Regions from separate parts of the Homo sapiens genome. Here region 1 is linked to region 2. Evidence: promoter capture Hi-C in human tissues and cell types (Jung and others, 2019). All regions are on one chromosome and are shown on one strand. The core of a region is centred on a gene start or on the middle of the fragment in contact, and the rest is flanking DNA. Distances in the headings are between cores, read along the strand shown. Region 1 overlaps BMPR1B (bone morphogenetic protein receptor type 1B). Region 2 holds the start of BMPR1B (bone morphogenetic protein receptor type 1B).

What was found. The method cuts DNA at HindIII sites, captures the fragments that hold promoters and counts their contacts. A contact is called where the count stands out against the background at its distance.
Region 1: a fragment that was not itself captured here is called in contact with the fragment with the promoter of BMPR1B in region 2 in 1 of the 25 tissues and cell types used here (aorta).

What each region holds. Positions count from the first base shown.
Region 1 is chr4:94,954,878-94,961,784 of GRCh38, reverse strand. All of the region lies in intron 2 of BMPR1B (bone morphogenetic protein receptor type 1B), which reads right to left. Among named protein-coding and RNA genes, the nearest start is that of BMPR1B, 200 kb to the right of the region's middle. The HindIII fragment of the contact is 4,014 bases long and covers 3,347-6,907 here.
Region 2 is chr4:94,752,239-94,759,852 of GRCh38, reverse strand. It overlaps BMPR1B (bone morphogenetic protein receptor type 1B), which reads right to left and starts at 1,898. Exons shown (of 13, transcript NM_001203.3): 1 at 1,785-1,898. BMPR1B-DT (BMPR1B divergent transcript) reads left to right here and starts at 2,320. Exons shown (of 3, transcript NR_121610.1): 1 at 2,320-2,459; 2 at 4,948-5,023. The HindIII fragment of the contact is 6,502 bases long and covers 1-5,363 here.

The DNA of each region.
Region 1 (6,907 bases), core at 4,104-6,603, 200 kb before region 2:
TTAAATAAACTAATTTATAAACGAATAGGAAATAATGTTAGCACACTTGAGTATGGAAAGAACATAGAGAATCATAAATGGCAAGCAAAAATGTTATGACCTAATGCTCCAGGAAACAGTCACTGCAAGTTTTTGATTACAGGAGTGACACAGCATAAACTCTGTTTAGGAAAGCTTGCCATGTTATAGTATGACTGATAGATAAATAATGGAATTTCAAATGATTTAAGGAAGCTTTTAATAAAGCAGTGAAAGTAGTTTAAATATGAGGCAAAAATATGTACCCTGATAAGGAATCAGCATGAATACAGAAAAAAAGAATGATAAAAGAGACATTTTCAAAGAAAGACAAATGAAATCAGTGAATAGACTACCTCAGAGATCAGCAAACATTTTCTATAAAGAATCGGGTTTTGCCGGCCATGTGGTCTCTGATAAAGCTACTCAACTCTTCACTGTAGCAGAAAAACGGCCATTGTCCTAGACAACACATAAACAAATGAGGGTGGCTGAATTTCAATAAAACTTCCTGTATATATAATAGGTGGTGGGCTAGATTTGGCCTGCAGACCATCATTTACTGACTCCTGAACCAGATACAGCTGGGGAGGGACAGTGGATCAGTCACTGGTATGTTCCACCATGAGTAACTGAAAACCTAAAAAAGCAGTGCTAAACAAAAGTTTGGCTCGCTCTCATTCTAAACAAAATCCACAGATAACAGACAGGTCTGTTAAGGCAACTCCACAATTCTGAAAGACTCAAGCTCCTTCTATACCATTATTTCACCAGCCTTAACATGTGACTTCTAGCACTTGCTTCAAGATATGAACTTGAGTTTGAGCCATGAAATGAGCATTCCAGCAAGCAGGAATGAAGAAGGGTACAAAAGGGCATGCCCCTTCATCTTAAGGACAAATCTGTAATTCACAAAACATTTCTGCTTGGCTAGTTGTCTACTGTCATATAAATGCCAAAAAGGATCACACTTGTTTCAAAGTAAGTGGCTCAATATCTTGAGCTTTTATCATTAATTCTCTCTAAACTAAAATATATATATATATATTTTTCATACACCTCTGGATTGTTAGCCTGTATAAAATTCCTTATTGGCTGAAAGCTACTCAATAAACTGTTTTCCTTCTGTCTGTAGTAATAAAACTATACAACACTATAAACATTTTCCATGTTAAACTCCAAGATATTTGGTTTTCTGGCTAGAAACAGTAGAGCTTTTGTTTTTAAAATTAAAGCAGACCCTTAGACCTAATTTACCTCAGAATGCCAAATATTTTTCTCTTCTGTTACGCTCTAACATTACTATCACCTATTCCAAAAACACATGACTTATGACTATATAAGAAACCGATGGTACCATCTCTGGGTAGTCCCTGAAAATGGCTCATTGATATAAAGAATAGGAAAAAACAAGAATGTCTGAAGATAAATATCTCTTAAAGGGTCTAGTATACAGGAGATTTATGCTGTGAAATTATGCTTATGATAAACAAGAGTCTTAATACTACAGCTGTACCAAGGAGATGTTTCACAGAGCACTGGTTATACAGATAGGACATTTTCTTTTATCGAAATAATTTGACTTTCCTTAAAAGATAACTCATGACAAAAGCTGCCATCTTAAAACATGAAGATTTACTACATTTTTGGACCTTCATATTGGTAAAAAGAGACAAAAGCATCCCGGATAGTTCTAATTAGATAAAGGAGTTGGTCTTTAGGACCATGCAGTAATTCAATATGTGTTGACACTAACTCTCAATTTAAACAATAATTCAAAGGATTTTATGCCTTTACTTTGACACTGAAAACATGCAGATAATTCGATTAACATTTAAATCTTTGAACACTAATTTTTAAAGGGCCTCTCACATTGACCTTTTAATTTTTTACTTTTAAGGAGATTTCAAAAATAATAAATAATGCACAAAACTTACCAAATTGCAACTAAAATCATACTCTCTACCCTAGATCTTATTTCAGATATATCTCAACTCACATAATATTTTTATTACCTGACATTTTAATCAAAGATCAAAAACTTCACTGGCCAAAGTATTTCCAAAGCTCTGTGAAGTAAATTAACTTTATGAAATGGAACCCAACTACATATTTTGTAATGAAATTTTATATTACATTTCAAGAAAAAATGCTGTCCTTATAAAGATAGCCAATGTGGCTCAGACAATAATAATGGTAAAAATATGTAAAAGAAATGTGAGAAGTAAGAAATATTTTAATAAACCCAAAGTAATATTCAACTTTGAGGAATCTCTGCAAAATGCTTACTGACTCATGGATTACCAATGAGTCCATCCTGACTGGGTCGGAGAAGGGGTCTTACTTTACAATGTTATCAGGCAGAAAGCAAAGGCAGAGGTGAGGTGGGAATAATTTGAACACATTGTTTCAAGGTGTTCTACATGTCTCATAAGACTGTAATACTTCAACTACCTTAACATTATCATGGATTACTAACAGGATCATTTAAAATGCTTTGGAAAAGGTATTTCATTCCACAAGTCATGTGTAAATGAATGCTTACTTTTTATACTAAAAATATAAAGAAATTTGTAGACTAAAAATCCCAAAATTCTTTCTGCGTCCCCCTCCAGTTCTGTAATCTTTAATATGGACTCCCCATCACTAGGATCATAGAGTTAAAACACCTTTTCGTGGCTTTCAAGCAACCCTAAAATCTGGTCTCCCTTATCCTACTGACACCTACCTTCTCAAGACTTCCACACTTCAGGCTCTTTTCCAGCCAAATCAGCTTCCTCGTGTTTCCAACTATACCATGCTCATTCCAAATCAAGATTTTAATCATTGTTTATAACTCCTGACCTGTAATCATTCTGCTTAAACTTGCATTACCATCCTCATTCCCTAGTTAAAGCCCTAATGTACTCATATGAGCCCCTGACCACTCCAGCCTGAGTCCTCTTATTTCAGAGTACAGAGATACAGGTTACCCACACTACTAATTATGACACCAGACACCATGAGAGCATCCTCATAATAAGAAATACACATTTCCAAACAACGACTAACACTGTGGACCTACTGTTATGAGCTGAATTGTGCTCCCCAAAATTCATACGATGAAGTCTCAGAATATGACAGTATCTGTAGACAAAGCCTTTAAAGAGGTAATTATGTTAAAACAAGGCTGTTAGGGTGGTCCCTAACCCAACATGACTGGCGTTCTTATAAGAGATTAGGAGACAGAAGGAGACACCAGAGAGATGACACTCATAGAGGGACAATGATGAGAAGGAAGCAGCAAAGGGTAGCCAAATGAAAGCCAAGGAGAGAGGTCCCACAAGAACCCAACCCTATGGACATCTTGTTCTTGGACTTCCAGCCTCCAGAACTGTGAGAAAGTTAATCTGTTGTTTCAGCCACCCAGTCTGCAGTATTTTGTTAGGGTAACCCTAGCAAGGTAATACACCTGCCATATGCCCAGACAGTATATACAATGTCTTACTTATGTAATACTTTACTCATCAACACAGCTCTGTATGGAAGGTGTGCTTATTATCCAAGGAAACGGAAAGAAATGAAGTAATCTGCTCAAGGTCTCACAGATACATGCTAGAGCTTAAGTCTGCTTTATTTTAAAGGTCATGATATTATCCACCATGTTGTATTAATCATATGTGAATGATCCAAATAGAACACTATTATTGCTTATTCTGCTTTCTCAGTAGAATGCTGATAAACGATGGATGGACTGAGAATTAGAAAACATTTTTTTACCTTTTATTCCATATATTTTTAAGAATATATATAGTAGTCAGTTTCCAAAGTTAATAATGGCCTACAAATCAACACACATGTTGATCTTGATTCCATCTACGCTTCTTATTTCATATCAAATATGAGTGATAACCCACCGTATACAACCTAATAAAAAGGTTACCATATTTCACCGATGCAAAAACCTGTATTTTTTACATTTTTAACATATTTGAAAAAGATACATCTTACAATCAGTAACATTTATCATCTTAGATCTCAAAGCGAAATGTATCTTAGATCTCAGAGTTGATGAAATACTTTAATTCATTAACTGAAGTTATATGTTGTCTCTGAGACTTACATAAAAATGAATGATCACAAGACCATCTGATGCATTCCTGTGAGGAGCTAAAGGAACAGTAGAAAGGTGGGCCAGTCGAAGAAAAATATTTCTTACCTAAAGTTGCAGTGCAAACAATGAGGAAAGAAGAGGGAAACAAAGAAAGAAAAGAAAAAGAAAAAAGGGCACATGAAATTGCAAACAGCACTACAAGTAATAGAGCTCATTTTAAACATCCTAAAGTCTTATAAGAAAATGAAAAGACAAAAAGAAAAAGCCACAAAAAATTCTTATATACATTCTCCCACACACATGTTGCAAAAGGAAAAAAAAAAAAAAAAAAAAAAAAAAACACGAAACAGGAGGTGGACTCTCTGTACACAGTGTGTCCATAAAGTGGAAACCAGTCTCACACTTTATAGTCACACCTCATATACCGCCATGGAAGGCAGGCCTCCTAGGTGAGGCATCGAGTTTCACAGGCATGCTCAAACACAGGATTGTTAACACTAATCCCCAGCAAGATCTGTGAATGAGAAGAAAGAAAGATAGGTAAATAGCCTGGGAAATATGGCCCCAATTAGAGGACTCACAACACTTGCCCTATTGATTATCTGTTATTTTGCCAAATGAATAAACCAGTAACAGTCATTGAATGCTGTGTGTATCAACATAGTAATCTACAATTTAAAAGACTGCTTTACAATTTTTACCACAATGATGCCTGTGTTCATCTTTAGTTACCTCTTAATTTATATTTCTACTTGAAAATATGCAGTTTTCTTTGATGTCACAAGTAATACGACCTAAAGCCCATTAGAAAAAGATGTAGTTACAATTACACTGAAACTGAGCCTTTTTGAAGAGTTAAAAAAAAAATTAAATTCTTTCTTTAAACAACACAGTAAAAATCAAACTCTACTTCCATCAAAGGGCTGCCAAAAATACTACTGATGGGATTTGCCAATGATCCATAATTCATATTATAAAGTATGATAAGAGCACACTAAATCTGTTAAAGTTGTTAAAAAGTAAATTCTGGTCTGTTATTGTCACCCAGGTATCTAGAAATTAAATGCAGAACTCTATTCTATAAATGTTCCACAAACTCAGTACTCTGTTCTTTTTTCTTTCTGGAGATGAGCTTTACCAGTTAGTTTTCATCATACAAACAAGAAACCATTAAAATCTGATGTGCTGACCTCAATTAAAAAAGAAGGTTAAAATAAGCTACCCCACATTCCAAAACATAAAAGCCTCTTATCTTTTTGTGTTATTGTTAATAATTATATTATGTCTTTATGGGGAGGGGGTTATCATAAAAACAATTTTTATTTAAAAAGAAACATGTGCTTTGGGAGACCGAGGTGGGAGGATCACTTGAAGCCAGGAATTTGAGACCAGCCTGGGAAACACAGCAAGACCTCATCTCTACAAAAAGGTAATTAAAAATTAAAAAAAAGAAACAAACAGGTGAACCTAAAACTCTCTTCTAAAAATAAGTCTTTAAATACGTAGAAAGAAATTACAAGGCATGTTTGGTTTTAAAACTACTGATGAACTATAATTTCAAAACGTAAGATACCAAGAATTTGTAAAGGTTTTCATTTTATTGCGAACTTAAAAAATAAAGTATAACTTGTAATCACAAACACAACTAAATAAAATCTATTGGCAACATCTGATTCCTCATTTATAAAATGAGGAAAGAGTATTTGCTGCCTCAGAGACCTATTGCAAGAATTAAATGTGTTGGCCAGGCACGGTGGCTAAAGCCTGTAGTAATCCCAGCACTTTGGGAGGCCGAGGCAGGCGGATCACCTGAAGCCAGGAGTTCGAGACCAGCCTGACCAATATGGTGAAACCCTGTCTCTACTAAAAATACAAAATTTAGCCGGGTGTGGGGGCGTGCACCTGTAACCCCAGCTACTCAGGAGGCTAAGACAGGAGAATCGCTTGAACCCAGGAGGCAGAGCTTCAGTGAGCCGAGACTGTGCCACTGCACTCCAGCCTGGGTGACAGAGCGAGATTCTGTCTTTAAAAAAAAAGAATTAAATGTGCTAATACGTGTAAAGCATGAGGAACAATGCCTAGCATAGCATGCACCTGCTAGTGTTTGCTCTTAGGATTAGTAACAGTATTGACTATTAGTATTAACATTATTAGCACTGACTGAAGGTCCAGTCCACCTCTATCTAGACACATACAAATCTATTTAAGGCATGTCCCACAGGAAGACTCTTCTCTGTAACTCAGCTCTTACACACATGACTCTCTTCTAAACTCCTACTGCTGCTAGTCTGACTACACATCCTAGATTTTAATTAATTTTCATTTTTCACTGCTGTGTATATTAAGCTTAAGTAATCACATGGATATAAAGTCCTTAAAAAAGGAGATCATGAAACACAGTTTCTGCTGTCTTCTCCAGTTCTCAAGCCTCAAGCCCTGAAGGAAGCAACTCTCTTCAGAGCAGTTGACAGAAATTGAATCATCTTCAGCTAACACTAGTTATAGGCAAGGCAGAAGATGCTAAACACCATAACGGTACTGATCACATTCCCACTTTTCAGGTGCCTTCCAGTTTAACTACAGAGATAGAAATATGCATACTATAAAGCAACATAAGTTCTAAGCTAAATCATACACCCACTACAATTCTTGCTGTTTGGAAGTCTAATGATGGAAAGATTAAAAGTATAAGGGGGTTAGGAAAGACCTAATGGAGACAGACTGTGAATGTGAAGGGTAAGTCTTATATAATAATAATAACAGTAGTAAGAATTACCAGTAAAAGAGCATTTAGCA
Region 2 (7,614 bases), core at 649-3,148:
ATGATCTGCTTATAACACAAACTTTTTTGCATTGCACAATGATCTAAGTGTGTAATAACTTACATATTTCACTAAGATGTAACATCCTTCAAAACATCCTTATAATGAAAGTTTTCCAAAAACATTATTGATCACCGGCATGTCTCATGTTTTAAAATTACTGACGAATCCTTTACTATTTTCTTTACAGCTAGAAATAATTCTTCTTGATCACTAGAGTGTAAAGGGGTATAAAGTACAAAGACTGAATATTTTCTTAAATACTAACATCCCAGTTGACACAGGACATTTCCCATAACTTGCCCAAAACAATAATTAGGAGAGTTGTCACTGGAATCCTAAAAATATATGTAAGAAAACAGAGATTCGTTGGCATCAATTTAGCACAGCAAGAGATTTCCATTAAGTGCTTTTTCAAATTATTTGCAAACACTTTTTAGCTGAACCCTCTCATTTCCAGTGGAGCCTTTTATGTTTCTTTGCAGAACTCAAGAACCTTTTCTCAGGTGGCTCTGCTTTGCTGCAGGTAAGTTTGGTATTAACACATTTTCTTTATCTGTTGGAGGTAGTGAAACGGCTCTCTTCCTCCGTTGTCTTTCACTGGCACCTTTGTGGCCGCTCGTAGTCACTGACCTCACCTTGCTGGAAAGGTGGCTAAGAAAAGAGCAGTTTCTAATAACTCAAGGGAACTGCAGCGTTTCCATTCAGAACAAACAGCAGGACCCAGCTGGAGGGGTGCAGCTCTAAAGAAGTAAGACCCGCACCACAGCGGACAACTTCCAGAGGCTCTTCTCCAACACCGCCAAACACAGGCGGAAACACGGAGCCTGGACAGAAAGAGGGACGAGCAGAGAGATGGGCGCAGAGAGCAAGAGACAGGGGAGCCAGGAAGACCGGGAGCGAAAGCCTCTTGAGAGAGAGAGAGAGACCAAAAGATTGTGCGAAAGTGACAGAGGGAAGAGGATGAAGGGACAGAGGAGGGACACACTGGGAGAGCCAGAGCAGGCGGTGGGGAGAGGGAGACAGACGCACGGAAGGAAAGAGAGACCGGGGGGAGAGGCAAAGGATAGCAATAAGGAGAGGAAGGGAGAAAGGAAGAAAAGGGAGAGAATGAAAGACCCAGAACTTGAGAGAGAGGCATAGAGAGAGAGAAGCAGGAGAGAGAGGAGAAGAGACAGGCAACTGAAGCAGAGACGGAGCCCAGTCCAAGGCGCCGGGACCAGCCCGCTGCGCACTTTCCCCCACGGCAAGGCTGGGTCTCGGGAGGCGTCCGGGGCAGGTGGGTGCCTGCGGGTCCCGCCTGGGCTGGCCCTGGGCCCCCGCCCCGCCGGGCTCCCTCCCATTTCCCGGATTCCGCGACTGCCCTCAGCTCGCCCTCCCGCCCCATCCCTCCGCTCGCAGGTCCGACTCCCTGCCTTGGGGCGTCCCTACAGCCCGAAGCACGTGTCCCGCCCGCCGCCGCCGCTGCCCCGACTCCTCGCCTGCGCAGGCACGAGGCCTCGGGGTCCCGGCAGAGCCGCCCGCGCACAAAGCCGAGGCGGCCACCGCCTGACCCCCTCCCCGCCGCCGCCACCGCCCCACGGCCGCGCAGCCCGCCCTCGCTCTCGCCCTCTCCCTCGCGCGCTCCGTCCTGCCTAGGGCGACCGCCGCCCAGCTCCGCACCCAGCCGCTACCCGTCCCGCGCCGCCCCTCGCTCTGCCCGGCTCTCGCCGGCTCGGCCGCCTCCCGCGCGCTCGGGAACTCGGCCACCCGCAGGGGACGGGGCCCCGCCGCGCGCGCCTTACCCGCGGCTGCGCTCCCGGCTCCCGCGTCCTCAGCGCCGCGGTCTCCGCACTGCCCGGCGTCCCGCGAGGCCCCGCCGACTCCGCGCCCCGCGCCCGGCTGCGCCGTCAACTTCTGGCCGCCGCGGCCGCTCCGCCGCCGCCGCCGCCGCCACCGCGGGACTTTTTTTTTTTTTTTTTTTTTTTTTCCCTCTCGCTCCTCGGCTGCCTCTGGAATTTTTTTTTTTCACTTGCCCTCTCCAGCTCCCACTAGTGATTGGAGACTGAGAGCCAAGTACTTAGCGGAGGGATTACACTTCTCAACGCACTTGGAGCGGCCCCAGCGCCGCCGCCTGTGTGCGGAGTGCGGAGCCGACTTGGGGAGCGGCGGGGTGCGGGCCGGAGGCAGCCCGGGTACAGGGGTGCGCTTCCCAAGCCCCGTCCGCTGCTCAGAGCATCCCCAAGATTTCCCTCATGGGTCCTGTCCTGGTTGTTTAAGAAGGTTTCCAGAAAACCTCCTGGTTTGAAGAACAAAGATTCGTGGAATTATTGTACCTTGAGAGCTGGAAAGGGCTCGCAGAGATGATATAATGTCGTGGATTTCAACTTTTCGGGGCCATAGACACTTTTCAGAAATTGATAAAACGTTGACACACCTTGTAAAAAATGAACACATTAAAATTAAGCCTGCAGTTTGAGGTGGGGGTTTTAAGAATCTTGAAATATATACAGTTGAGCGTCCAAGGGAAATGAAATATTTCCCTTCTACATATTTTTTGAAACCGTTAAACGAAAACAACCACCAAAAAATTAAAAATAAAAAAATAAAACCCAAAAGAGAAAACCCATTCCATTTGTATTTGATGACAGTTTACAGTTAGTCGTGTTTCTTTTGGAAAAGTATGTAACGTCTTATACTTTGTGGTCTCCTTGCTAAGTCTTTAAGTGTTGAAACACTTTCTAAGTGGGTAAATATAAAGTAAGCTAGTTCACAGTCAGAAATTTGGGGAGAATAGTTAACCTCTTTAAAATCAGCCATTTTGCCAACTCTATTTCCCAGGGAGATATCTCGTGACTTCCAAATACTCTTTTCCTTTCAATACCTTTCAGCTTCCCACTCTCCAGCATTACTTATTTTCTCCTTCTGTAAAATTTTTTTCCTCCAAAATATTGACAAACAGTCTCTGGTCACCACCAAGTGTGTGATCTAAGTCATTTTTTTTTTTAACAGTTTTTCACCCTGAAGTAACTTTCTTCCAATTTTCTTCATATCTATTTCTATATTCAATTCTTAGCCTACTATTTTCTTTCAACTACTCCCTTTTCTTAAATTGTTTCTATTAAATCTTTTTTAAACATTAAATGTAATCTTTTTGCACTTATCAATAAAAAATTCATTTGTGTATCAATTTATTTTATGCAGCTTGCACTTAAAGCAGGCGGTGCCCCCAGTGTTTATTGAGTGTATGAAGATGTGGTCATGTTTTTTCTATAAAAGCAATGTTAGAGTCTCCACAAAGGTCTTTTTGCCCCATGATATATCTGCATTGTGATTTCTAATGCCAAACTGGAAGAAGAAAGGTATCTGAAAGAAAATTTCCAAAACAAGTGAAATTAGTCATTGACATCATCTGACCTTCCTTATTCAACCACTGTTCCAGTCCCCAGTACCAGTACTCATCCTCTTGCCCCAAGAATTCCAAGATAAAATCCATTCATTTTACTCTCATCCCAATTCTTCTCTGATACCCTCACTCCCACCCCTTCCCTTTTCCACCTCCTTTCTTTCAAAACAATAAAGCATATGACTACCTAAATTACCTTCTACCTGGTCCTCAATCCAATTTTTCATCATCTCCATCCTCATATTAACTAAGTGTTTTGTGGGGAGAAGGGGGCTTGAAGACACGGAAATTATAACTTCTACACCATTAAAATAAAAGACAAAGCAAGGAATTATGAGCTATTATGTAATTAACTAAAAATAATAAATTATCGAAAATGAAATGTGAGTTTAGAAATATGAGTTTTAAATATTGAAAATAAGATACCAAATTATAATTCATTACAGAGCTTATGATTGTATACATAGAAAAGCTTAGAGAATTTACTGGAAATCCATAGAACTAAAAATGTAATGTGTTGATCATTGTCAATATCTCATCAACATTAAGCAAGTTTAAAGAGGAAAGAAACCTGATTGAATCTATCCTTTCTACTGTGTGAATTACTGATAATTTGTATTTGACAGCTGTATAATCTCCCTTAGAATTGGAGCACTCATAAACTGCAGTGAAATAAAGCAGACATTATGCAGAATGTTTTGGAGCTAGTGGTATTGTCACCTGTATCTTTTCAGAAGTTGCACTAAGGATTATCTTTCCTTGGCTTAACTCCTCCATTCAGCAAATATCCTTCAGAGAATCTGCTGGGTATAAGATACTGATTCAGGGAATACAGGCATCTCTGGATAGAGAAGACACAGATTCCACTTCAATCAACTTGCAGACAAGGAGACAGATTTTTTTAAATACCTTGTTTAAATATATTTTTTAAAATTCCAAATCAGAGAACAAAGGAAATTCCTGTAGGTCTTTGGGATGAAAAAAAAAAAGCACTCCAGGTGGGAGAAAATGGGGTACAGGGGAAACTGTGTTTGAGGTGGGCCTTAGATGGTAACATTTCTGTAAGCAGGAATGGGGAGCCTTGGAAAGAAGCTATTCAAAAATCAACATTTTTGAGTGCCTATGACAAACCAAGTCCTGGTATTTGAGAGGCAAACTCTGTCCATTCCTTCTTGAAACTCATAATACAGAAGAAACAAGATACTTAAAAAATATATAGAACTTTCTATGAGAAGTGCATTAATGCATGAACACACAATTTTTGGAGCATAGAAAAATGAACTATTCTGCCTAGAAATCTCAGGAAAACCTTCCTAGAGTAGTCACATTTCATAAGGGTCCTGAAGGATCTTTAGAGATCAAAGCGGGGCTAGAAAGAGAATAAACATCCTAAGCAAGGAGAACCCTATGAAAAAGCATGGCGTGTTTAGAGAACAGCTGGTATCTCAGTGCTGCTATCCAAGTGATGAGGAGAAGGTGCAGCAGATGACTCTCTTAGGCTAAGCAGGGTTCAGAAATAACCTTCTCAAACATACTAATGAAATTGATTTTTTCCTTATTAGGTAATGGAGAAGCACTGGAGATTTGTAAGCCACGGAGTCAAATGGTGGACTGGGATTTTCAGGAGATCATTTAGAGGTACCTGGAGAGGGAGAAATGAAAGCACAAAACTAATTAAGGGTCTGTCATTGAAAGAAGGAATACTTGAACCAAGACAATGGTGTAACTACCAAGACAGCAGACTCAAAAGACACTTCCTATATTGCTAACTGTAGCCTTGGATTTTGGTGCCTTTAAAGGCCATAGGAGCCAGATGTGGTGGCATATGCATGTAGTCACAGATACTCAGAGGCAGAGGTGGGAGGATCCCTTGAGTTCAAGACCAGCCTGAGCAACATAGTGAGACCCCCACATGCCCACACCATATCTAAATAAATAAATAAGTAAATAGAGACCACTGGGGGGAGAAGAATAGAAAGGAGGGGCTTCATTGGGTGCATGACAAATTTTAGCAAAAGCAAGATTTTTTTCCCCTCTGCTTCTACATAAGGAAACCAGGGCAGTGTATATAGGACTCTCAAACACTTGCAGGCATATTTCCCATTAAGAAAGACATTTGCCCAGGCCCACTGGAATTGAACTATTTGGGGAATTTATAAGTAGAGAAATAGGACAGACCTGGGGACACAGCTTGCTTCTATGCTGTCAGCCTCCCCTTCTCCTTCCTCTTCATGGATATCCTCACTCCTACCACTTTCCTTTTCCACCCCCCTCTTCTCTCAAAACTGAAGGTAAAGGATTTGACCACCATTAATATATTGTCATAAATCAAGGCATACAATGCTAAGTAACATTCTAGAACATGTGCTTTTAAACTATTTCTCTCTAATTGTGGAATAAAAGTCTGCCTCTTTTCAGGTATGGTATTTTAGGAATCAGGTGAAGGAAATATTTTTCAGTGTAAGAAAGAGATCTTTTTCTTGCTCTTCTGTTCCTACTGCTGTGGTTGTCTTATTGTCCACTGCTACATGTTGACTCTACATATACAAAATAAGTGGTTAAGCCTCTCAACAAACAGAGTATTTAAATTTTTGCTTGTTAATATAATAACTTGGTGAAATGTGTACCTTCCATAATAAAAGCCACATTTATGGAGTGGTTACCATGATACAGGCACACTACTAAGTAGCTCACATTTATTATCAACCTGAGGCCTCATAATAAGGTATTATTTTATTTCCATTTTACAACTGAGGAAAGCAAGGCACAGAGAAGTTAGATAACATTCCCACGGCCATGCTAGAAATTGGAAGAGGCAGGATTTAAACATGAATTGTCTGGCTGCAGCATCTCAGTCTTAACCAGTGCACTAAACTGCTTCTATAGCACTGAGAATGTTTTTTGGTTTTTGTTTTTTGAGATGGAGTCTCACTCTGTTGCCCAGACTGGAGTGCAGTGGTGTGATCTCGGCTCATTGCAATCTTTGCCTCCCAAGTTTCAAGCGATTCTCCTGCCTCAGCCTCCCAAGTAACTGGGATTACAGGTGTGCACCACCACACCCAGTTCATTTTTGTATTTTAAGTAGAGACAAAGTTTCACCACTTTTGGCCAGGCTGGTCTCGAACTCCTGACCTCAGGCCATCTGCCCGCCTCGGCCTCCCAAAGTGCTGGGATTACAGGCATGAGCCGCTGCACCCAGCTGATAATTTTTTAAGTAGACATTGAACAGACACTATACAAAAATACGTGAAGATCTTGAATCTAAGATAATGTGTGCATTTGATCTTAGAACATATGGAAAAGCAGGGTACTTGAGTCCTCTATATTTCATTAAAGGCATTTTTGAGGTTCTGAAAGCTAGCTGCTGGGGGAAGAAGCTGGTGATAGCAGAGACCTGGGAAGCAATGAGGTCTGTGGCTTTTAAAACTCCCCTCTCTGGGTCAGTGCTTAATCACCTTGCCTATGCCTTTTGCCAAGTTGTAAGCTTCTTTAGGATCTTTTCCCTGTCTTTTACTACTCTCCCCCGGTTTTCCTAGCTAGAAATGGGTGCTTTTAGCTCAAAAGCAGATTTTTGCATGTTGTGCTGTGGATTGCATCATAAGGTAGCAAGACTTCCCTCACAGAAGCATTTAGCACAGGTAGAGATGGGATATTGTGGAAGGAGATCGTGCCTACAAGGGGTTGAAGGACAGACTCTAAAATTCTCTAAGACTCCTTTCTACTTTATGATTCTGTATTTAACATATTATGAATAATTTCAGTATTAACACAAATATCAATACAAATATAATTTTATATAATTTATATAAATGCTGTTAGTCATGTGAATATGGATATTGATTCACATTAATGCATATTATTTATTGTGAATTATTTAATATGAATTAATGTATTTCTTGTTTGTTTGAGACAGAGCCTCACTCTGTCACCGAGGCTGGAGTGCAGTGGCAAGATGTCAGCTCACAGCAACCTCCACCTCCTGGGTTCAAGCAATTCTTGTGCCTCAGTCTCTGAAGTAGCTGGAATTACAGGCATGTGCCACCATGCCCAGATAATTTTTGTATTTTTAGTAGAGACGGAGTTTGATCATGTTGGCCAGGCTGGTCTCAAACTACTGACCTCAAGTGATCCACTCACCTTGGCCTCCCAAAGTGCTGGAATTACATGGGTGAGTCACTGTACCCAGCCTGAATTAATATATTTCTAAATATATTAATATATTTTCTGAT